Regions from separate parts of the Homo sapiens genome. Here region 2 is linked to region 1. Evidence: promoter capture Hi-C in 16 types of primary human blood cells and fetal thymus (Javierre and others, 2016). All regions are on one chromosome and are shown on one strand. Each heading gives the region's core, a stretch centred on a gene start or on the middle of the fragment in contact. The rest is flanking DNA. Distances are from core to core; before and after follow the strand shown. Region 1 holds the start of HMMR-AS1 (HMMR antisense RNA 1). Region 2 has its middle 44 kb from the start of PWWP2A.

Region 1 (6,374 bases), core at 3,347-5,846:
ATCCCTGAGCCAGGACTAGAGCTGAAATTGGGGACAATGGCAGTTTTCTCTCTGAGTGACATCCTCTGCCCTAGGAGCTGAGTTTTCAGTGGACTTGTGGGGAAGAGATGAGGAATAGCCTCAGGCCCTCTTGAGTAACCTCCTGGTGTAGAACCATCCCCCTCATGAGCCAGAGAAAGAGTCATCGGGGCCCAGCATTTTCAACACACTGTGCCCAAGGTGAGCCCCTGTTCCATGAATGGGGCTGACTGGAGGAAGGGATCCCCCACCTCACAATTGCATTTGTCCAGGATATAACTGCAGCCACAGGGAGCTGGGGACAAAATGAGAAACTCTGATGTCCTGGTCCTCCTGGGAGGGAAGCTTCTGACTCGGAGTTGGGGGAAAAGAGGGCCCTGTGCTTTTGGCTGTAGCCGTCTGGCGTGGACTTTGCCTTGCTAAGCTGGGAGTGGGAAGAGGGGAAGGAGTTTTGGCTTAAACACTGCAGACTCTCTTTTTCACCAAATTTTTGCAGATTTTCTTGAATAGATGTTTCTTCATTTGCTATTTTTCCCTTAGGTCAATTTTCAGAGGCTTTAACTGGTTAATATTTTATAACTTTTAGTTTCACTAGGGAGCAGGTCAGCAGAACTTTCATGCTGTCATGCCAGAAGTCCATCTCAGCAATTACTTTTGAGTTGAACTTTTATCAGAAAAATAGCTTTGTAGCTGAGGAGGGGCAAGGAGATTTAAAAGACTGTATCTCCTTTGTCACAGCTGTTTCATGTCATTTTGTAATTCAGTCTTAAAGCCTGTGTCTAGTAGTGATTTTTGCTGTTGAGTGTGATAATACATAAACAACTTTGGAATTTGCCCGCAACATTGGTAACACATTTCACTGACATACTCTTTAATAATTGTTTATTACCTATTATTTCTTTTTACCTAGGAAGTATCAAAACTCCGCTGTCAGCTTGCTAAAAAAAAACAAAGTGAGACAAAACTTCAAGAGGAATTGAATAAAGTTCTAGGTATCAAACACTTTGATCCTTCAAAGGCTTTTCATCATGAAAGTAAAGAAAATTTTGCCCTGAAGACCCCATTAAAAGAAGGTAAGACATGAATAAATGTATAAAAGTGTCCTCTTCCTTTGGATTTGCTTTTATAGCATTTAGCAAGTCATCCATTTTATGAACTGTGAAAATTTGTTGACACCTTCTGATAAAAGCAGTTCTTACTGAGATTGTTGTGTACAATGACTGTTTTCTTCCTCCTTCTACGCTTTCTTTTCTGTATACCTGGATTCTGCCTGTTCTTCAAGGCAAATCTCAAATCTTCCTTGAAGCTTTGCATGACTATTTTGTCCCTGTCCACACACCCCAAATTACTCCCTCTATAATACCCTTAGCATTTTAACCTAAATGTCTCTTAGGTCCTTAATCATTTTCTGATTTGTAGTTTTAGAGAAGTAAATTTCTTATTTCTTGACTGTGAATGTTTGTCTTTCACGATAAATTAAAGTTGGTTGAAATGATAAATCTAAAAATTATCTTACAGAATATATTGCTTCATCTGCCTTAAAGAAGATACAAGGCCTGTTTTTAGTTTATAATGATGGATAAATTCGTTTTAATCTAGATTACTAATCCTTCTTTTCAATAATTCTTCTAGGCAATACAAACTGTTACCGAGCTCCTATGGAGTGTCAAGAATCATGGAAGTAAACATCTGAGAAACCTGTTGAAGATTATTTCATTCGTCTTGTTGTTATTGATGTTGCTGTTATTATATTTGACATGGGTATTTTATAATGTTGTATTTAATTTTAACTGCCAATCCTTAAATATGTGAAAGGAACATTTTTTACCAAAGTGTCTTTTGACATTTTATTTTTTCTTGCAAATACCTCCTCCCTAATGCTCACCTTTATCACCTCATTCTGAACCCTTTCGCTGGCTTTCCAGCTTAGAATGCATCTCATCAACTTAAAAGTCAGTATCATATTATTATCCTCCTGTTCTGAAACCTTAGTTTCAAGAGTCTAAACCCCAGATTCTTCAGCTTGATCCTGGAGGTCTTTTCTAGTCTGAGCTTCTTTAGCTAGGCTAAAACACCTTGGCTTGTTATTGCCTCTACTTTGATTCTGATAATGCTCACTTGGTCCTACCTATTATCCTTCTACTTGTCCAGTTCAAATAAGAAATAAGGACAAGCCTAACTTCATAGAAACCTCTCTATTTTTAATCAGTTGTTTAATAATTTACAGGTTCTTAGGCTCCATCCTGTTTGTATGAAATTATAATCTGTGGATTGGCCTTTAAGCCTGCATTCTTAACAAACTCTTCAGTTAATTCTTAGATACACTAAAAATCTGAGAAACTCTACATGTAACTATTTCTTCAGAGTTTGTCATATACTGCTTGTCATCTGCATGTCTACTCAGCATTTGATTAACATTTGTGTAATATGAAATAAAATTACACAGTAAGTCATTTAACCAATTAATTTTTCAGCTTGTATTTTATGAAGTTACATTCATGCTTCTATGTAAGATGTATTTATCATCTCTACCCTACCCACACCACCTTGTCCCCAGAATCACAAAAGATACTGTTTGGAAAGTGGTAAATCTCTCTCTAAAATGCCTGTTTTGCACATATCATTGGTATGATATTTATAAGCTACCTTTTTTATAATGTGTTCTCACTGATGGCTCAACAGGGACTATCAGTCAGAATTGCTTTTCATTATTATTTTATTAGATCTTAATACATGGTTGAATTTTAAAATACAGTTTTTTAAATTAAGTTCAGAAGAAACGTAGAAATTAGAAAAATTGTCTAATAAAATAAAATGGTTTAATGGGCTGGGCCCAGTGGCTCACGCCTATAATCCCAACACTTTGGGAGGCTGAGGCAGGTGGAATTCAAGACCAGCCTGAGCAACATAGTGATACCTCATCTCTAAAAAATATATAAATAAATAATAAAATGCTTCAGGACCTCTACTTTTAGCCAACATGGGGTAACAAGATGAACAACCAGGTGCACTGCCCAAAGTTCTGCCCACTGGGAGGATTTCTCTTTACCACTATCCTTCAGGGATGTCCCAGAGAAGGGCTGGTGTACTATGGCTATCCACTTTCAGGTGATGCCTACATATCACACAGAACCATCTATAAACTAGGCCCATGTTGTTTCTTCCTGTCAACTCATCATAGGGAACTCTCCATGAGCTTGGGAGAAAAAAGGCAAGGTAGCAGGAACAGGGACCATGGGCATTTGGGTCACTTCTTCATGTAACTTGCTTTTGCCTTCAGGTCCTGCCTGGGCCCAGTCACATACATAACACGTTCTTTGATGATGTACTCCTGCTGTCCACACCCAGCATTATGGCTTGTGGGTCAGATAACACCCAGCTCATGATGGGCAGCTCAGGTCGCATGGTAACTTAATTGACCACGGTAAGCATTCAGTCCCTACTGAAGCCCAGCAGTAGGCCCAGAGCTGTTTCTCAAAAGAGTAGTTATCTGCATAGGATAACAGGTCTTTCTTCAAAATACTAAGGGTCTGCACTGAGATTCATCTATGTGGGCCTGCCAAAGGTTCCAACAGCATCTCTATCTGCCACTGACACTTCAAATACCACTGGATCTGCAAGTTCATATGTCCCAAGCAACAAAGCCGCTTACACAATAGCCTGGACCTATTGCAGAACCTTTCCTATTCTGAGTCCTACTCCAAACTAGCAGCTTTTCAAGTCACTCAGTAAATGGGCCAGAGTAACAAACTCAAATGAGGAAACGTCTTCAAAATCCAAAGAGGCCTGCCGCATGTCATGCCTCTTCTGGTTGTAGGAGGGGGCAGATGCAAAAACTTACCTTAGAAGGGGTATCTCAACATGCCTCATACCACTGGACCCCTAGAAATTTTACTGAGACATGAAAAAGCCTTTGAATTTTTGTTGGATTTACTTCCCACTTCTGACATGCAAATGTCTTACCAATAGGTCTGGAGTAGTTGCTATGTCTCACTCATTAGGTCCAGTGAGCATAATGTCGTCAATGTAATGGACCAATGTGATGTGGAAAGAAAAGGCAATCAAGATTCCTGTGAACAAAATTAGGACAGGGCTGGTGAGTTGATATGCCCTGAGGTAGGACATGAAGGTGCATTTCTAGCCTTGCTAGCTAAAAGCAAACTGCTTCTGGTCGGCCTTATAGACAGGGATGGAGAGAAAGGCATTTGCCAGATCATACCAGGTAGCTGCATACCAGGAACCAGGAGTTGTGTTAATTTGCTCAAGCAATACATCTGGTACTGTAGCTGCAATTGGAGTCACCACCTAGTTAAGTTTGTGATAATCCATCTGTCTTCTGCCCAGGCTAAATAGGCGAGTTGAATGGACATATGGTAGGAATCACCACCCCGCCTTCCTTCAAGTACTTATGGTGGCACTAATCTCTTCAGTCCCTATAGGAATTGAGCATTGCTTTTGGTTTACTATTTTCCTAAGTACAGATAGTTCTAGTGGCTTCTACTTGGCCTTTTCCACCATAATAGCCCTCACTCCATAGGTAAGGAAACCAATGTGTGGATTATTCTGTCAGCTGCTGACTGTATTCTAATTATACATTCTAGAACTAGGGGATAACCACAGGATAGGTTCAGGAATTCACTGGGCCCATTGTGAGATGGAACTAAGCTAAAACTCTGCTGATCACCTGACCTCCATAAGCTGCTACCCTGACAGTAGCACTTTGGATCTCCTGAAATTAGTGTCACTTCAGAGAGCCAGTGTCCACTAGTTCACAAAAGATCTGATTATTCCCTTTTTCTAATGCACAGTTACGTTGGTAAAGGTTGTACATCCCTTTGCGGAGGACTAGGAGAAAGACTAACAGTATAAACATTTGGTTATGGACCAGGGTCCCTTTGAGGTCCTCCCCTTCAATCAAAGGGTTTTGGGCTCTATAAAGTGGCTCAAGTTTGGGAATTAAGGGACCACGATTCTGTTTTTATGATTCGAGTTCAACTTTCGTCACTTGACTTAGAAGTTTTCTGCTTATACAGATCAAGTTAAGACTTCAGTAGGCTTCCTATCTATTTCACGTCTAGGAAAACCATGATCAACTAGCCAAAGCATAGGTCTACAAGTGAGATTATTCTAATTGTTCCTTTGGCTCTGTCATTATGATAACCACTTCACCTTGCCTTTGGTGGTTGAGTCCCATTACTTGACCCTTGCCACCCTGGGATCCTTTACTTCCATTATATTTAGGTTTTCCAGTTCAGTGACTGCAGTGAGCTCTGGCCTACAGAGAAGAGCCATCACAGAGTTCTGAAAAAGATGCTGGAGCTCTCCTCGCAAATTTCTTTCTCATAGTATTGGTGAAAGGTATGCTTTCTTGACCTTCCCAGTGTGGATGAGTAGTTCTTTTTTTTTTTTTTTTTTTGAGACGGAGTCTCGCTCTGTCGCCCAGGCCGGACTGCGGACTGCAGTGGCGCAATCTCTGCTCACTGCAAGCTCCGCTTCCCGGGTTCACGCCATTCTCCTGCCTCAGCCTCCCGAGTAGCTGGGACTACAGGCGCCCGCCACCGCGCCCGGCTAATTTTTTGTATTTTTAGTAGAGACGGGGTTTCACCTTGTTAGCCAGGATGGTCTCGATCTCCTGACCTCATGATCCACCCGAGATGAGTAGTTCTTAAGTGAAAAATCTAATTTCCCAATATTCCTAAACCTTTTAATCCCATCCTCTAGATTAAACCAAGGCATGTCCAGCACTTCCAATTCATCTTTTCCATGTTTTAGTAAGCCAATCAAACTGTGAGCACCCTTTCTAACTCCCCAAGCTGCAATGTTAAATGCAGAATCTTGGCTTAGTGAGCCCATGTCAATAAATTTGACCTGATCCAACTTTATGTTCCTTCCATCATTTTCCAACACCTTTATTATCCATTCCGACATATGTTCCCAGATTTTTGTCTGTATAAATTAGAGACTTTGAGTAACTCTTTGGAGTATAGCACATCTCTTCATAGGTAACACTTTGTTCCTGTCTAGTTTCAGGTCTAGAAGCAAAGAAGGGTGGTGGAGTTGGGTCTGGAGGAGAACCAACATTGTCTTGCATATCAACTGCCTCAAAGGAGGCCATTACAATTTCCTCAGGCAATGCAGTGTTAATCATCACAGACAGGTTGGAGGGTACTATCACTGGAAATGGAGAAGCTGCTTCCAATGGGGTTGAGAAGCCTCTCCACTAGCAAAGAAGACTCATCAGAATTTAGGGGCTTAATGTCCCCAGCTTCATCAAGGTCTTCCCATATGTCCCAATCCTAATTTACAGAATCCCATTTTTTTTTCAGTAAGTGCCCTCCTTTTGACAATAGTCACTC
Region 2 (6,910 bases), core at 1,234-3,733, 3.4 Mb before region 1:
ATCTTTAAGAGGAAGAGTCCAATAATCCCCCAAGACCAAAGCGCAAATCTGAGACACCACGTAGGATGGGAAATATCTTGACGAGCCCTCATCCGTTTCCTCTGCTTGTTATCTGTGCTCTCTCCAGATTGCCCTTGGCTTAAGAGGAAAGGCTGGAGCTGTTGGCTCTCAGCTGCGCAGCCCCCATTCAGATGCAGCCTTATGAGCCTGCAGCTGATGGTCGCTGCCAGCTGGATTGTATGTTCCTTCCTGTTGTTTTCTGTGATCACTTCCCTTCATTACTGTGCCGGTTTCCTCCATATGCTCGTCCCTCCCCTTAAAAAATACAGGAGGGATGAGGATAGGGAAGAGAAACTCTTCCTCTGATCTTATCTGTGGATACTCTGTACTTGATACATACCCATACAATCTTAGTCAAATCTCCTTGAAGTGATTTCAGTTAGGATTCTTGCCAGCCTGCTTCCTCGGTACTTGATAGTAACAAGCTTAATCCTTCCATCACCTGGATTTCCTTTAAAAAAGTATGTGCGCATTCCACCAGAAGTGGCTGAAAAATCTGTTCCTTCAGTGAACTGCACAATTAAAAGCTGTACAGGGAAAGGAAGCTATAATTTGCAATCACTTCCTCCTGTTGTGTGCAGAGCTATCCTGACCTCACACTAAACCAGATCCATTAATGCTTCTGAAAATGAAAAATTGATTACTGTGCTTGCTTCAGCAGCACATATACTAAAATTGGAATGATAGAAGATTAGCATGGACTCTGAAAAAAAGTCAATTAAAAAAAATGGATTACTTGCTACCAGCCAGTTCAAGAGGTAGGGTGAAAATAACGTTAGCGCATGAGAATGACTGCTTACAACCCTTCAAGGGGCAGTTTATGAGCTGGGCACAGTGGCTCAGGCCTGTAATCCCAGCACCTGCGGGGGGCGAGGTGGGAGGATTGCTTTCGCCCAGGAGTTTAGAACTACCTGGATAACAGAGAAACCCCGTCGCTACAAAATAAATACTTTTTTTGTTAGCTCGGGGTGGTAGTGCACACCTGTAGTCCCAGCTACTCAGGAGGCTGAGGCAGGAAGACCACTTGAACCACAAGGTTGAGGCTGCAGTGAGCCATGGCTGCACCACTGCACTCCAGCCTGGGCAACAGAGCGAGACTCCGTCTCATAAATAAATAAATAAATAATAAAACAAAAATTAGCCAGGTGTGATGGCAGGTGCCTGCATTCCAGCCTGGGTAACAGAGTGAGACTCCGTCTCAAAAATAAATAAATGAATAAGTAAATCAAAAATTAGCCAGGCATGATGGCAGGTGCCTGTAATCCCAGCTACTCGGGAGGCTGAGGTGGGAGAATCACTTGAACCTGGGAGGCGGAAGTTGCAGTGTGCCGAGATTGCACCATTACACTCCAGCCTGGGCAACAAGAGCGAGGCTCCGTCTCAAAAAAAAAAAAAAAAAAAAAAAAAAAAATCCTAACATCTCCCCAGGGGTTTCGGCCTTGGCTGAGTAGGAACTGAAGAGCTTGGTGAGATGGATTTCTACACCTCATTTTGCCAATAAGGCTGCTGTGTGACTTTGCTGTCAAAGGTCATTGATAGAACTGATAACAGAATCCATGTCTCCTACCTCTTTAGACTAAGGCAGGTTATTAGTATAAAAACATTTCTTTTTTTTTTTTTTCTTGAGACGGAGTCTCACTTTGTTGCCCAGGCTGGAGTACAGTGGCGCGATCTCAGCTCACTGCAAGCTCTGCCTCCCGGGTTCACGCCATCCTCCTGCCTCAGCCTCCCGAGTAGCTGGGACTAGAGGTACCCACCACCACGCCCGGCTAATTTTTGTATTTTTAGTAGAGACAGAGTTTCACCGTGTTAGCCAGGATGGTCTCGATCTCCTGACCTCATGATCCACCCTCCTCGACCTCCCAAAGTACTGGGATTACAGGCGTGAGCCACCATGCCCGGCCAAAAACATCTTTAACATCACCAAGCCACTTTCCCTCCTTTAGACAGCTGCTTCTACAAACTTGCCTCACAAGGAAATAATGAAAGGGCTAACCCTGAAAGTACTCTTAACGCTTAAAGACAATGTCTTCCCACTGTTTGGCCAGCTCTCTCTTCTTCTGGCACAGTTTTCCTGAATCATACTCTCCTTTACCCCAAGCTCACTACCTTGTTGGTACCAAAGCAAAGGAATTGTTAAGGCCATGAAATTTCATTCCAAGCCGGGTGCGGTGGCTCACACCTGTAATCCCAGCACTTTGGGAGGTCAAAGCGGGTGGATCACTTGAGGTTGGGAGTTCAAGACCAGCCTGGCCAACATGGCGAAACCCCTTCCCTACTAAAAATACAAAAATTAGCCGGGCATGGGGGTAAGCACCTGTAATCCCAACTACTCAGGAGGCTGAGGAAGGAGAATCTCTTGAACCCAGGGGGCAGAGGTTGCAGTGAGCCGAGATCGTGCCACTGCACTCCAGCCTGGGTGACAGAGTGAGACTCCGTTTCAAAAAAAAAAAAAAAAAATTTCATTCCGATTAAGCAAAGATTTGGCAGCATGCTAATCACTAGAGAAAAGGATGCTTAAAAAATAACATATTCTGGCCAGGCAGTGGCTCACACCTGTAATCTCAGCACTTTGGGAGGCTGAGGCAGGTGGATCACCTCAGATCAGGAGTTCGAGACCAGCCTGACCAACATGGAGAAACCCTGTCTCTACTAAAAATACAAAATTAGCTGGGAGTTGTGGCACATGCCTGTAATCCCAGCTATTCGGGAGGCTGAGGCAGGAGAATCGCTTGATCCCAGGAGGTGGAGGTTGCAGTGAGCCGAGATCGCACCACTGCACTCCAGCCTGGGCAACAAGAGCGAAAATCTGTCTCAAAAAAATAAATAAATAAATAAATAAAGTCCAGGCACAGTTGTTCACGCTGTAATCCCAGCACTTTGCGAAGCCGAGGCAGGCGGATCACCTGAGATCGGGAGTTTGAGACCAGCCTGACCAACAGGGAGAAACCTCATCTCTACTAAAAATACAGAATTAGCCAGGGGTGGTGGCGCATGCCTGTAAACTCAGCTACTTGGGAGGCTGAGGCAGGAGAATTGCTTGAACCCGGGAGGCGGAGGTTGCAGTGAGCCAAGATCGTGCCATTGCACTCCAGCCTGGGCAACAAGAGCAAGACTCCGTCTCAAAAAAACAAAAAAAAAAACAAAAAAAACCTCTTTATTCAAATAATTTCTTATTCTGATAAAAGAATCATGGCCAGGTGCAGTGGCTCATGCCTATAATCCCAGCACTTTGGGAGGCCGAGGCAGGAGGATCACTTGAGCCCAGGAGTTTGAGACCAGCCTGGACAACAAAGCGAGACCTTGTCTCTATTATTTAAATTAAAAAAAAAAAATCTTTACTTGAAAAAGGAAAAATGAACTTACGCTTTCTTATGTGAAGGCCAGCATTGGTAAGATTTTCAGTTGCTTCTATTGGTTCCATCATTCATTCCCTCCATCTTGTAGGAGTTGTGTCTATAAATATACTGATACATGTATACATGACCAGGATCAGTATGAGTCTCCTGTAGGCCCTCTCAGATAATGAGCACATGGCTTGTTAATCTTCCCTGGTTCTCCCTGTTCCATTTTCATTAGTGAGAAATTTGAGAGAAAAAAGATATTAGCAGAGCCAGATTCCTGTGGTCTCTTTTTTACACTCATTTAAATAAACTGAAATGGGAGAATGTTTGAGATTAAAGCCTTCATGTACTCTGGAATAACAGGCAGCCAAAGGATTGCTTTTCTTGAACAGAAAAAAAAAGTACATTGACCTAAGTTTCTGGGTCAGTCCTGTGAACTGTCTGTAGGTTTTAAAAGGCTAATTTTTTCCTGATAACCAAGTGTTTCTGATTCTTAGGTCAAACCCTTGACCTCTCACTCAATGTGCTGGGCTCTTAAAGAAGCAACCATTTATCCATAAGGGCAGGATTCCTTAAAATTAAAACAAAAGAAAACAAGACAAACCCAGCAGCAGATATTTAATTACATCCAATTCTGAAGGGTAGGTTGTTTCTATCGAAAAGCTGTTATGTTTGTGCACAGGGTCCTAATTAAACTGTTCACCCTTCCTCCATCCTTCGTCATAAAGAGGTCCCATAAAATCTCCTAGTGATTAGAAACCTACAGGCTGTTCTCCTTAGGAAGCATTGCTACTGAAAACAGCTCCCTAAAGTACAACTAGTGATTGAATTCTAATAGTAAAAAAAAAAAAAAAAAAAAAAAAAATCTTTAAAAACTAACTCCTAAAAAGTAAACATAATTTTTAAATAACTAAATTTTTAAAAAATCAAAGACTTTATTGGATAAAGGTTACACAACATTCTTTAACATTTAAAACTCTGAGCATACTTAAGATGAGAAACAATTTTTATCATTCAAGTCTACAAAACAAAATAGGCTTATGAAGATTGAAATACAGACAAAAGGTAGCATGAAGCAAAGCTTAAATATTAAGCAACTAAAGCAATGAAAGTGAAATAGCAACATGGTAGGTGTAGGTTTTAAATACCACCAAGTCTCATTTTTTAAAAAATGAAAATCTGGTTTGTAACAAAACACCTTTGAGAATATGCCATGAGAAAAAAAAAATATTTATATACTTAAAACCTGATCTCTCCCAATTCTTTTGCTTTATATTATTACTTCTTGGTCATTTCCATCACTCTACACAAATAAAGAATTCTAAAGCTTAATTAAAAATCTTGATTATACACTTCATGTATCATGGTTTGGGAGAGTTATCTGGTTCTTGAAGTGAGCCCGAAAGTACTGCTGGTGTTATGTATCTGAAAGAACAAGACTGACCCAAACCAAAGCCCTAGGCCATATAGAGTAGGGCACCCCTATAGTATAGTTCATGTCATCTTTAGAACTCCCTGCTGCTACAGTTCCTGAGCTGACTTTTTCTGATTTGATAAAATATATAATGACTTCATAATATGTAATTTTCCAAACAGACAATTGTAGAATGCAATCAAAACTTTAAATTATTTGCAGTATAATTAGAATTTGCATTAAGCTCATTAGACACAAGACTGCCTGCCTTTTCTTCAAGTTGTAAAACAAATCATAGGTATATTAAATGTTTTAAAACTCACCCAGAACCTTCTGTTAATCCTGAGCCTGGGGTTATTAGGTAATTCCAAACTTACACAGTAACATTATGAAAAGTCTGACCACTTGAGCCAAGTGCTCAGTTATCTGTTACGTTGCTTCATATGAATTTTAAGGTTTTTTATTTTTTGGCATATTTTCCCTTTTTTGTAGTAAGTAATCAATATGGATTATCTTTCTGGTTTAAAAAATAAATCAGTATTGCCACTAAAAAACTTCAGTTTTATTATTATTAAAAGTACGGCACCATCAAATATAAAATGCCTTAAAAATGTAGTACTAACAGGTCCATCTGGTTTTCTCATGTTTTCTCCATTCATTAAAAAAGAAAAATTAAGGTCTTTTATATATTTACCAAAGACAAGAAAAAAACTACAGTCTCTATTAGTAAGAATTCATGCTCCATGCATGAGAAGTTTGACACTGTTTTAAAGGATCCTGTTCCTGCCACTTGTTGTCCCCCAGGGCCAAGTCCTACTGACACCTGTTGGAATTTCTTGCACTTAGGAGCGGCTCTCTATGGAGAGAGGTCCACATCAAAATTTAGACGTTGTCACCTTTTTTGAACTAGATAAAACCAGTAAGGATACAGACAATAATAAAAGGCTTTCCAACTCAGCAGAATTAAGAACTAGCTCTTGGAGTATATACATTTGCACTCCAATATCAACACTAGCCTATCCACTTTGAGTCAAAATTTGAAAGGTAAGAATGTAATTATGAAAATGTGCACAAAATGTTAAATACTAGTGGCAAATAAATATATCTTAATATGTTCTAACAAGCAAACATATATTCAAGATAATACAGCCCTGCTTTATTAAAGAAGGAAAAGATCCAAATTGTGTTTGTGGGGTGGGGCGGGGCACTTTGCCATCCTTTCAGCAGGATGTTATTTTCTGTTGTTTCTACTGGCACCTTGAAGGAAACATTGGCCTTGGCATATGTGACTATTGCTTTTCATAGAAGAGCCATTTTAGAAATACCTTTGCTCATATCTGAACTGATTAACCTAAACCTTGGAGAAAGCACAAAGTTTAAGTATGAAAAATAATTCAGCATTTCTGCATCATCCCATGCCTTTTAGGCCTGTCCAAACTGTACTGATAAGAACTTCACATTCCAAAGAAGTTACTGTCAGTGTTTCTTCATATATAAAATTCAAGTGAGTTCTTACGTGTGTAATTCACATCATTTTTCTCCTCATCTCATGCATAATTTATTGCAAGTTTATTTTTTATAAAATATTCCCTAATACCTTTTCTTCGGTTTAAGACAGCACAATTTGCAAGTGCCCCTTTATAGACTGTTGTTTTTAACCACTGCCTTAACATTTACTTCTTAGTGCAGCTTTAAAAACTCCAATTTCATTCAGTCCTGATGCTCTGGTGTTCTCTGTGTCATTGTGGTACAGGTCCATGAAACCAGCAGCCTGCTAATGTCTTTGTGCTGAAATATAGTAAAGAAAAGGAAGAAAATGTCGTTAAGCACAAGTAATTATATGAGGAAAATGATGTCCTTGTTGTTTAAGCCCTACATAGATTGTGGGATCACACCTGATTTTTTCTTTTAAATCGGTTAAACCTGACCGATGTTGTTTTGAGAAAACAACTTACTGCCACTCTAAACCAGCAGAAATATTCATGTTATTTCTGAAGTATTATCAGGCCAGTTTCCAACACAAGTAAAATGGCTGTCATCTTTACATAATCAATGTGCACTTGAGTGTTTTTTTAAAATACTTGCTTATAAA

Evidence for each region. The method cuts DNA at HindIII sites, captures the fragments that hold promoters and counts their contacts. A CHiCAGO score of 5 or more calls a contact.
Region 2: a contact is called between a fragment that was not itself captured here and the fragment with the promoter of HMMR-AS1 in region 1, in 1 of 17 cell types (non-activated CD4 T cells). The highest score is 6.6, in non-activated CD4 T cells.

What each region holds. Positions count from the first base shown.
Region 1 is chr5:163,489,462-163,495,835 of GRCh38, forward strand. HMMR-AS1 (HMMR antisense RNA 1) reads right to left here and starts at 4,597. Exons shown (of 4, transcript NR_109892.1): 1 at 4,238-4,597; 2 at 3,982-4,088. It overlaps HMMR (hyaluronan mediated motility receptor), which reads left to right. Exons shown (of 18, transcript NM_001142556.2): 17 at 929-1,091; 18 at 1,651-2,480. The coding sequence ends at 1,703. The HindIII fragment of the contact is 5,178 bases long and covers 1,323-6,374 here.
Region 2 is chr5:160,071,563-160,078,472 of GRCh38, forward strand. It overlaps a transcript of PWWP2A not described here. Among named protein-coding and RNA genes, the nearest start is that of PWWP2A, 44 kb to the right of the region's middle. RefSeq lists a silencer at 7-207. The HindIII fragment of the contact is 4,000 bases long and covers 484-4,483 here.